3 separate regions of the Homo sapiens genome follow, and regions 1 and 3 are each linked to region 2. The links are contacts of gene promoters, found by promoter capture Hi-C in human tissues and cell types (Jung and others, 2019). All regions are on one chromosome and are shown on one strand. Each heading gives the region's core, a stretch centred on a gene start or on the middle of the fragment in contact. The rest is flanking DNA. Distances are from core to core; before and after follow the strand shown.

Region 1 (3,607 bases), core at 503-3,002, 270 kb before region 2:
TTTCAGTTATACATAGCTTTGGCTGAGGTAAGAAGAATGAAAATACATATAGATGCAATGCAATCTCTATCAAAATACCAGCTGCCTTTTTCAGAGAAATTGACAGGCTGATCCTAAAATCCATATGGAAATGCAACAGACTCAGAATAGTCAGAACAATCTTGTAAAGGAACAAAGAACAAAAGAATCTTGAAAAAGGACACTTCCCAAGTTCAAAATTTACTGCAAAGCTACATTAATCAATACAGTACCAGACTGGTGTTAGAATAGGGATACAGAGAAATGGAAGAGAATTGAAATAAACCTTCACATTTATGGTCAATTGATTTTCAACAAAGTTGCCAACACAGTTCAATAAAGGAAAGAACCATCTTTCCAACAAATGGTTCTGGGCTACCTGGATAGCCATATGCAAAAGATTGAAGTTGAACCCTACCTCATATCATATATAAAAAATTAACTCAAGATGGATTATAGAACTAAATAAAAGAGTTAAAACTATAAAACTCTTAGAAGAAAACAAATGAGTAAATCTTCATGATCTTGGGTAAGGAAATAGTTTCTTAGCTACGGCACCAAAAGTACAAATGACAAAAGAAAAATTAGGCAAGTTGGACTTTATCAAAATTTAAAACTTTTGTGCTTCTAAAGACATCATCAAGAAAATGAGAACACAGGCTGCATGCTGTGGCTCATGCCTGTGATTCCAACACTTTGAGAGGCTGAGGTGAGAGGATCACTTGAGCCCAGGAGTTTGAGACGAGCTTGAGCAACATAGTGAGATCCCATCTCTACAAAAAAATACAAAAATTAGCCAGCTGTGGTGGTGTATGCCTGTACTCCCAGCTACCTTGGAGGCTGAAGTGGGAGGATTGCTTAAACCCAGGAGGTTGAGGCTGCTGTGAGCCATGATTATGCCACTGCACTCCAGCCTAGGCACAGAGCAAGACCCTGTCTCAAAAAAAAATGTGAAGACAATTCGCTCTATGGGAAAAAATATTTGCAAATCATGTATCTTAGCAGGGACTTAGATCCAGAATATACAAAGAACTCTAAAGATCAAATAGGCTGGGTGCAGTGGCTCATGCCTGTAATCCCAGCACTTTGGGAGGCTGAGGCAGGTGGATCACCTGAGGTCAGGAGTTCGAGACCAGCCTGGGCAACATAGTGCAACCCCGTCTCTACTAATAATACAAAAATTAGCTAGGTGTGGTGGGATGCACCTGTAATCCCAGCTGCTCAGGAGGCTGAAGTAGGAGAATTGCTTGAACCTGGGAAGTGGAGGTTGCAGTGAGTTTAGATCGTGCCATTGCACTCCAGCCTGGTCGACAAGAGTGAAACTCCATCTCAAAAATAAAAATGAAGATCAAATAATAAAAAGACAACCCAACTTTTTTAATATTCAAAGGATCTGAATAGACATTTCTCTATAGAAGACAATGGCCAACAAGCACATAAAAAGATGCTCAACATCATTAGCCATTAAGAAATTGGGAATCAAAATCACAATGAAATAACATTTTGCACTCCTTAGAATGGTCAGAATAAAAAGGAAAGGCGTAGGTGAAAATTTGGAGAAATCAGAATCCTTAAACATTGCTGGTAAGAACAAAATGATACAGCTGCTATGAAAAACAGTTTGGCGTTTCTTCCAAAGGTTAAACTTAGAGTTACCATATGACCCACCAATTCCACTCGTAGTCATATGCCCCAGAGAATTGAAAACTTATGTTCTAACACAAAAACTTATACACTAATGTTCACGGCAGCATTATTCATAATAGTTAAAAAGTGAAAACTATCCAAATGCTCATTAACTGATTAATAGAATGCAATAATATTCCATGTAATGGAATATTACTCCACTGAAATTCCATATAATGGAATATTACTCCATTATTCTTTTCCATACAATGGAATATTGTTTGGCAATAAAAAGGTATGAAGTACTGACACATTACAACATGAATTAACCTTTAAAACAGTAGAAGAAGCCAACCAAAAGAGACCACATTTTATATAATTCCATTCTTATGCAATGTTCAGGCTAGGCAAATCCATAGAAACAGAAAGTAGATTAGTGGTGCCAGGGACTGGGGGAGGTAATGGTGAGTGTGGGATGGAAAATTTCTAGATAATTAGTAATATTTTCATTTCTATTGAGTTTGCACAACATATTTTGGAAATAGAATTGGATCTGCTTGAGGGAGCACCTTGTCATTCCCTCAGTAAAGCCTCCTCCTCTTCAGTACACAAGGCCTAGCAATTTTCAAAGAAAGGAGATAAGTTACACTTAATAACTGAAACTCCACTGAACATATGCTGATTAACATGTCCCTTAGAAAGCAGAGGGCACTTCAGACTTCTCCGGTATCCAGGGCCCACTATTATCAGTTGCGTTGCACTGAACCAGTTCCCCTATTCATCCTCTACATGTATCAACCCTGAAGTCCTGACCACGTTTCCATTGCACAGTTCTTGGTGTTTTGCTCTCTCTCTTTTTGCTCTGTCTACAGTCAAATCCAGTTTGTCATTTCACACCTGGGTTCATTCCATAAGCTCTTGATCGTGTATGGGATCCTTGAGGTGTCGCTTTTCTGGTCGGAAACCTGTGGCTCATGGCACCTTTGGCTGAGTTTTGCTCAAGCCCACGGGGCTCTTTCTGCCCACTCGGCCTGACCGGCTGCACTCAGCTCATGCCAGCAGCCTGGATCCCATGCCTCCAAGAAGACTGCAAGTCAGGTGTGGAGCGGCAAGGGGTGTATGAGTGAGTATGGGGTCCGGACACTGCACAGTCAGATATGCTGGCTGCTGCCACAGGATGGGCAGCTCCAGGCGCTGGCATGGGCACTGGCTCTCTGCAAAGCTGCAGCTGGACCAGGGGCCCTGTAAGCAGCTTCCCTGGCTGGCACTGGGGAATGAAGTGGCACCTAGAAGCTTGGAGATGCCAGGAACCACAGGGCCCCAAAGAGGGAGTCACAGGTCTGGGCTCCCTGAAGGTCCGCAGCTCTTCTCTCCTTTTCGCCCACAATGTGGCGAGCAAGGGGCATATTTCAGTCTTGTTTGTGTTAGAGCTCTTTTAGCCCTGCCATACAATGGGTCCTAAGTACTTGTCCTGTGACCAGAAGAATGAGGTACACCAACAAGTGGAGGGTAAGCAAAATGAGAGGAGCTTTATTGAGCAATAGAACAGCCCAGCCTCCCACAGTGGGCAGCTCCTTTCCACAGCCAGGGTGTCCCAATGAGTGTTCAGCTCCTAGCAGAGAGGAGACTCTGGAGTGAGAAGCTCCTCTCTGCAGACAGGTTGTCCCATCGTTTCTGCAGCTCTCAGCAGAGAGGAGGCCCTAGAGTGGGTTGCTCCTCTCTACAGGTAGGTCATCCCATTGTCTTCCCAGCTCTCAGCAGAGAGGAGGCTCTGGAGTAGGTTGCCGCTCTCTGCAGGCAGGTTGTCCTGTCATCTTCCCAGCTCTCAGCAGAGAGAAGGAGTGGGTTACTCCTCTCTGCAGCTGGTCATCCCAACATCTGCTTGAGTCTCAGCAGAGAGGAGGCCCTGGAGTGGGTAGCTCCTCTTTGCAGCTGGTCATCCCAACATCTGCTTGAGTCTCAG
Region 2 (3,546 bases), core at 302-2,801:
GCCATCTCCCCCAGGCAGGCACATGGTCATGGGACCTCTCCCCACCTCATGGTATGTTTGCGTCTCTTCTTTGAATACTGAAGCCCGCATCTCAATGCCCCCAGCCCCACGCTCCAGTGGGCACATGTTGCAGGACGCTCTTGGGAGCCCATCAACTCAGCTCCTCCACCCCGCCAATCCCCACCAAAGCCCAGGGCACAGCCTACAGGTTTTTCTGTGTTTCTCTGGGAACTGCAGGAAAAGGAAATGGGCCCCTGTGGCTGTCCTCCGGGGCTGGCAGTATGTTGAAAAGGCAGAGGGAAAGCAAGCCCCCCCCACCTCCTGGCAGAGATAGGGGTCTTCTGCCCCAGAATGGTCCCACCATGGAGGACCCCCAGCCCCAGGAGCAGGGCCTCCCTGGGCCAGACCTCAGGCCTAGGGCCAGCCGGGGTCAGTGTGGCCTCACATGCTCCCCTCGGGCTGGGAGACAGAGAAAGCCCCAAGGAGGACAGCTTCCTGGGCTGCACGGAGTGGCACTGGGGGGTGGGGAGTCCATGGCTGGTAGGAAGGAAGAGGTCCCCTGGCTTTGGGGGAGCCTGTGCTGGCTAGGGAATTGTGGGTGCTGGGCAGGGACTGGTCGGCTCTCTGGGTCCCTGGCAGGATAGGTAGGGAGGTCAGCTCACCGTGGTGAAGTTCTCAGGCCCACAAGGTTGGCCACGGAAGCGACAGTCCAGCAGCATGTCATCCAGGGAGTGCCCAGCACGGGCATAGAGTTGCGCCATGTCAAAGGTGGGACTGGGCATGAAGCCGGGCGGTGCAGGGGGCCGGCCCAGGGCGCGCAGGAAGGCGGCGTGCTCTGCGGGATCCAGGCCCAGCAGCGCAGACCCAGCCCAGTGCAGGTCGTTGGGCGTTAGGCGCGAGCGGCGCAGTGGGTTGATGTTGCACAGGGTGACAGCCGGGAAGATGAGCCGGTGGCTTTCTCGCTCATCCAGGGCAGTCTGGTGGTGGAACTCCCTGTAGTAGCGCACCCTCTCAGCCACCTGGTAGAGGAAGGTGGCCACTGACAGGACCACGGCCGCTGCCCACATCCCCCGGCGCAGGCTCAGGCTGCCTGGCCCGAAGACGTGGCCCAGCCCGTGCATCGAGCAGTTGCTGGCGAACACGCGGATGTCCGAGGCTGGCCGCCGGGCCTCCTCTGGGCCTGAGGTGGGCTTCATGGCCAGAACCCAGGAGCGGAACCAGCTACAGAGGCTTGGAAGAAGCGAGAGAGAGTCAGTCAGGGGGCTAAGGAGGCTAAGATAGGATTCAGGAGGCCAGGCAAGGAGAGGAGAAGAGAGGGTGGGAGACAGCCAAGGTTGGAAGGCAGGGAGGCACTAGCCTGGCAGGATTGGAGGAGGTGATCTGGCCGGTCAGGTCCCACTGTTCCTTCCCGAGGAACAGGCGGTGGCTCCACTGGGCTAGGCACTGGGCTGGGGACTCCGCAGCAGACCAGGTGGGACGTAGCTGACCGTGGCAGGCAGGGGCTGCGGAGCGGTGCTGAGCCGGCGGTGCTGAGCCGGCGCTGCTGCAGAGGATTGGGTTTCAGCAGTAGGGGGGAAAGGGGGCCGACAGAGCAGTCTGGGGGGTAGGAGAGGTCCCTAGGGCCCCAGGCTGAGCCATTAGTGCAGCATGGAGGGGGGCATGGCTGTCCAAGACGAGAGGCGCCAGGAGGAAACCGCAGTAATCCTAGGGAGAGCTTGAGAAAAGCCCAGAGGTAGATTGGGCCTGGAGATGCCTTGGGGCCCCCTAGGCTCCCAGTTGCAACCCCTGTACACTGGCCGCGAGGGTCAGTCGCTGACCCCTGGCCTAGCTCCTCTCTCCTTTTGCCTCTGCGGCCTTCCCTCTAGCTTCACCCAGGATCTGTTCCTTCACGAATACCAGAGCTGGCTCTTGGCCAAGCTGGGAAATGGTTGGAAGGCTGGCATCAGCAGATCTCTTCTTTCTGTGCCCCTAGCATCTCAGCCTACACTGGATGGCCAGGGCACTCTTCATGTCCCACTTCCAGGGCCCGTCTGTTTCCTAAGTGTCCCTCTCTCCCTAGGGAGTCAAAGCCTACCTCCCCACACTCAGGCCTCTGAGGATGTTGGCCTCTACAATGGTTATGGGCTCACCTGCCACCCCAGGTAGAACATGGGTGCCCCACCTGCCACCCTCCCGGGTACCACGGGTACCCCACCTGCCATCTCAGGCACAACATGGGTATTCTGTGATTTCCCATCTTACGCTGCTATATCCAGGACCTGGAAAACCTACATTTTTCCAAAGGGCTGCATACCACCCATTATGTGCACATACCATAGTTTATTTAATGACTCCCCCACTGATGGGCACTGGGGGTGTCCAGTCTTTCCATTACAAACAATGTTGCCGTATCATCACACAGATGTGAACTCCCAGGACTTTGGTGGGCTTTTTTTGACCATGAGTGGTAGAAACATGGTTCCACCAGCCAAACGTGTGCACACACCATGCTGCAACTGCTGGGCCACCTGTCTGTCCTCCCAACAGGACACAAGCTTCATGGGGGCAGGGACTGTCCTCATTCCCCATCGTGGGCTCAATGGCACATGACAGGTGCTTGATTAATAAACACTTTGGAAGGACTGAGTACCATGGTTACAGCACAGGCGTACCAGCTCCCCAGAGCCACAGTGCCATGCTTTGCAAGTATTTACTGTAGATGATCCCACTCACACTCTCAAAACAGGCATTCAGCATCAAGCACAGCTAGGCTCCCACTCTCCACTGTGGAGCGAAGGCCGAGGCGAGGTTAGGAAGACGGCGCGGCTCCTGCGGTCTAGCTCTTCCAGCTGGACTAGCCAAGGGGTTTCACTGCTTCTCTAGGGGGCGGGTGAAGGGCTGGATTTAAAGAAGCCGCCCAGAAGATATAAATCTGGTGTCAGAGGCATTTTGGGCAGCCTGAGGCTGATGACTGAGTGGGTGAAGCAGGAACCACCTTGGCTGGCTGCCTGGTGAGGGAGGGGTCAGGCCAACAAGCAGGGCCCCAGCAGGGCTTGTGGACTTGCCAGCTGAGGCCCTACTCTGGGCTGCCCTAAGGAGGGGTTTAGCTGTGAACCAGCCCCAGGCTCTGCTCCTGGACCTCCACTGCTTAAAGACACAGCCTCTGATCTGTCAGGAAGTGGGATATCAAATCAGGGTGGATGTGGGCCTGGGGTTTTTGGATGGCTTGTCCCCAAAGCACCATCTAGTTCTAAACCACACCCACAAGAGCCCGTGGGTCCCACTCTGGCTCCTGCACGCAAACTTGAGCCACTGCTGCCTCTTCCAGGCTGGCCTCCCAGCAGCACCAGCTGCTCCATCAATGCACTGTATCACACCCCTGAAAGAGGGTACCACCCTTCTTTACACAGGGTAAATCCAGAATGCTTGCCTGGCTGTGAAGGTGCATTGCAGGTACCACCTCTTCTCCTGCCCAGGGGAACAGGGCACCGTGTAGTCCCACAGCCTGGATGTGGCTGGATAGGGGAAGGATCCCAGTAGGAAGTGACAGCGGCACCAACATGGGGA
Region 3 (3,721 bases), core at 725-3,224, 310 kb before region 2:
GTTTGAGACCAGCCTGAACAACATAGAGACTCTGTCTCTAAAGAAAAAAAAAAAATTATAAAAATAAAAAATTTCATTTAGAGTGTACTTTTATTAACATTGCTTTGGTTTACAATTTTAGTAGCATTAATATTCAACACTGTTACATTTTCATGCTGACGATATTAAAATAAACGTAAAATATTTATTTAAATAAAATCTACTGAGCCTAGCTTTCAAAAAATTAAATCCTGGCCAGGCACAGTGGCTCACGCTTGTAATCCCAGCACTTTGGGAGGCCGAGGCGGGCAGATCACCTGAGGTCAGAGGGTCAAGACCAGCCTGGCCAACATGGTGAAACCCCATTTCTACAAAAATTAGCGGGGCATGATGGCGGGTGCCTGTAATCCCAGCTACTCGGGAGGCTGAGGTGGGAGAATTGCTTGAACCCAGGAGGCGGAGGTTGCAGTGAGCCGAGATCGTGCCATTGCACTCCAGCGTGGGCGACAGAGCGAGACTCCGTCTCAAAAACAACAACAACAAAAATTAAATCCCATTTGAGCTTAAGTCGGTTATTTAACAGAAATTTATTATGTTTGTCTTACAGTTTTTTTGTTTTTTTTTTTGTTTTTTTTTGTTTTTGTTTTTGAGACGGAGTCTCGCTCTCTCCTCCAGGCTGGAGTGCAGTGGTGCAATCTCGGCTCACTGCAAGCTTCGCCTCCCGGGTTCCTGCCATTCTCCTGCCTCAGCCTCTCAAGTAGCTGGGACTACAGGCGCCTGCCACCATGCCCGGCTAATTTTTTGTATTTTTAGTAGAGACGGGGTTTCGCCCTGTTAGCCAGGATGGTCTGATCTCCTGACCTCGTGATCTGCCTGCCTCGGCCTCCCATAGTGTTGGGATTACAGGCGTGAGCCACCGCGCCCGGCCAGGCTTACCTTTCTTGAAATTAATATTTATTTAACATAAAAATTTTAGGCCAGGCGCGGTGGCTCACACCTGTAATCCCAGCACTTTGGGAGGCTGAGGCGGACGGATCACCTGACGTCAGGAGTTCAAGACCATCCTGGCCAACATAGTGAAACCCCGTCTCTACTAAAAATACAAAAACTAGTCGGGAGTGGTAGTGGGCACCTGTAATCCCAGCTACTTGAGAGGCTGAGGCAGGAGAATCGCTTGAACCCAGGAGGCAGAGGTTACAGTGGGCGGAGATTGCAGTAAACTAAGATTGCGTCACTGCACTACAGCCTGGGCGACAGAGTGAGACTCCGTCTGAAAAAATAAAATAAAAAAATAAGCCAAACTTACCTAACTTTTTTCAAGAAAGGTTAGCTAAAAAGTCATTTTCAATTTTATTACTGGTTTTAGGGAATTGGATTATAGTGTGCTGTAGTGTAGTTTTTTTCTGATATTTCTTGTACTTGGGGTCATTAAAGTCATTGCATCTGGGGGTTTATAGTTTTCATCAAACTGGGAAAAATTAATGGCCATTTTTTTCTTCAAGTATTGTTTCTGTCCCACATGTCTGCCTTTCCAGGGACTCCAATTACATGCATTTTAGGCCGCCTGAAATTGTGCCACAGCTTGCAGATGCTCTGTTCATTTTTTTTTTTTTTTAGCCTTTTCTCTGTTTTTTCAGATAGTTTCTATTGCCTTATGTAACATTTAACTAATCTTCTCTTCTATAGTGTCTATTCTGCAGTTCATCCCACCTAATGTACTTTTCATCTTGGATGTTGTACTTTTCATCTCTTACATTCTAATGTGGGTCTTTTGAATGTCTCCCATGTCTTTATCTGACATGTTCAGTTGTTCCTCTGCCTTCTTCAGCAGATGGATTACAGTCACTGTTTTAATGTCCTTGTCTACTAATTCTATCTTCTGTGTCACTTCTGGATCTGTTGCTACTGACTGATTTTTTTGCTTGTTATAGGTTACATTTGCTTGTTTCTTTGCATGCCTGCTAATTTTTCAGTGGATGCTGGATATTTTTGAATTGCTAAATTATTGAGTTTTGTTAGGGATGCACTTATTTGAAAACGGTAAGTTAAGGGTACTGTTCAGGAGTAGCTTTTAAGCTTTGTTAAGTGAAACCAAATTATGCCCTAGTGCTGAGGCAACACCCTTCTGAAGACTCTATTTGACGCCCTGTGACTACCAAATCCTCCACTCTGGCTGGTGGGAACATAAACTATTCCTGGCCTTCTATGAACTCGGAGGATTATTCCCTGCTTCTTTCATGTGGTACCTTGCCCAGCCCTGGGCGGTTTCCTCACACACATGTGCTGATCATTACTGAGCAGAAGACTCAAAAGGGCTCCTCTGAAGCTCTCTGACACCCTCTCTCTGGCAGCTTGCTCCTCTCACCTCCTTGGCCTCCTGCAAGCCCAGCTCCATCTCTTTAACTCCAGGGAGCACAAGGCTCTGCCTGGGTTTGCCCTCCCTGCCCCGTAACCTGAAACTTCTCCAGACACTGAGCTCCCCTCATGTTTCCCTACCTCAGGGTCACCGTTCTGCACTGCCAGGAAGTCACTGTTTCATACAATTTGGGGAAAGAAACTATTCTTGGTCATACTACATACCATACTCCAAGACATATGGTAGGAAGTTGTGACAAAACTTCTAGCTTACTTGGAGAAGTAAGGGGGAAAAGTCAAATGGAAAAGGAAATGGAAAAACTGAAGTTTCCTCCATCTGCATTCTATTTGGCTTACATTACTGCTGATTTCCTTTATGAAAAGAGAGAAATCACACACACACAAAAATATGCTAACAAGTTGGCCAGGATAAATAGATGCCCAGGATAAATAGATGCCCAGGAAAAAAAAAACTTTCTCTACTTAGAAAGACATTGTTAATTATTATTTCATTATTATACCTACCACTTACCGGACATGTTAATGTATCATGAACTGAAGATGTAGCCAAATTTGTATTCAATGGTTCCCTGAGACCTAAAAATTATTTCAAGGATTTGTCCAGGATAAAAAGATTGAGGGAGGCTCACACAGATGTATGAAGATCAACCATGTCTTTATAACTGCAGAAGCTTAGTTATGAGTGTATATGGAAGCTCATTATACTAATTTTTATTTTTATGACTATTTGAAATTTTCCATAATAAAAAATTAGAAACAACTATGGAAGGGAATGAAAAATTTACCTAAACTTTTAGGACCTAATTTAAAGCCTGTTTACCCTACACTGTTTGCAGAAGAGAATGAAACTGACATCCAGAAAGAGGCAGAGACAGAGACCCCAGAAGCACAAACCAGCCCTCATTCTCACTATTCCCAGCCCGGCCCCTCCCCTCCCAATTCCTTTTTTGTGTACGTTAAAGTTGGGACTTGTTCACTTAGAACCCAAAGGCACTGACCAATGGAAAACTATAAATATTTGCATTCATCTTCTGGGAGTATACAGTATTATCTTGGGAATGCACCAAAACAGAAAAGAAGTTAACACTAAATTTGTTAACTTTTGACCATTTTCAAAAAATCAAGTCTACTTTTCAAATGTTGAATATGTCTGCATCATAGTCTCTTAGTACCGTTTCCCATGAAGAGGAACCAGGACTCCTTGGGAAATTGCTGATTCCTGGTCTGGGCATTAAATGCCCAAGATGAGCCTGGAGTATCTTTGGATTCCAGAAATCAGAGACTGCAAAGACTAGCAGGGTCAGGTCAAAAAAACATGGGCTGCCTGCCAGCCAGCATGACCAATTTAAGCACTGAAGTTTGAAAC

Evidence for each region. Contacts are between HindIII fragments. The study calls those that stand out against the background at their distance.
Region 1: a contact is called between a fragment that was not itself captured here and the fragment with the promoter of ASIC3 in region 2, in 3 of the 25 tissues and cell types used here (adrenal gland, bladder and pancreas).
Region 3: a fragment that was not itself captured here is called in contact with the fragment with the promoter of ASIC3 in region 2 in 1 of the 25 tissues and cell types used here (neural progenitor cells).

The regions. Positions count from the first base shown.
Region 1 is chr7:151,321,562-151,325,168 of GRCh38, reverse strand. No RefSeq gene overlaps it. Among named protein-coding and RNA genes, the nearest start is that of NUB1, 18 kb to the left of the region's middle. The HindIII fragment of the contact is 5,298 bases long and covers 1-3,607 here.
Region 2 is chr7:151,046,536-151,050,081 of GRCh38, reverse strand. It overlaps ASIC3 (acid sensing ion channel subunit 3), which reads right to left and starts at 1,551. Exons shown (of 11, transcript NM_004769.4): 1 at 663-1,551. The coding sequence starts at 1,196. It overlaps ABCB8 (ATP binding cassette subfamily B member 8), which reads right to left. Exons shown (of 16, transcript NM_007188.5): 16 at 2,300-3,546. RefSeq lists an enhancer at 1-39. The HindIII fragment of the contact is 19,092 bases long and covers 1-3,546 here.
Region 3 is chr7:151,361,327-151,365,047 of GRCh38, reverse strand. All of the region lies in intron 8 of NUB1 (negative regulator of ubiquitin like proteins 1), which reads right to left. Among named protein-coding and RNA genes, the nearest start is that of NUB1, 21 kb to the right of the region's middle. The HindIII fragment of the contact is 4,144 bases long and covers 1-3,721 here.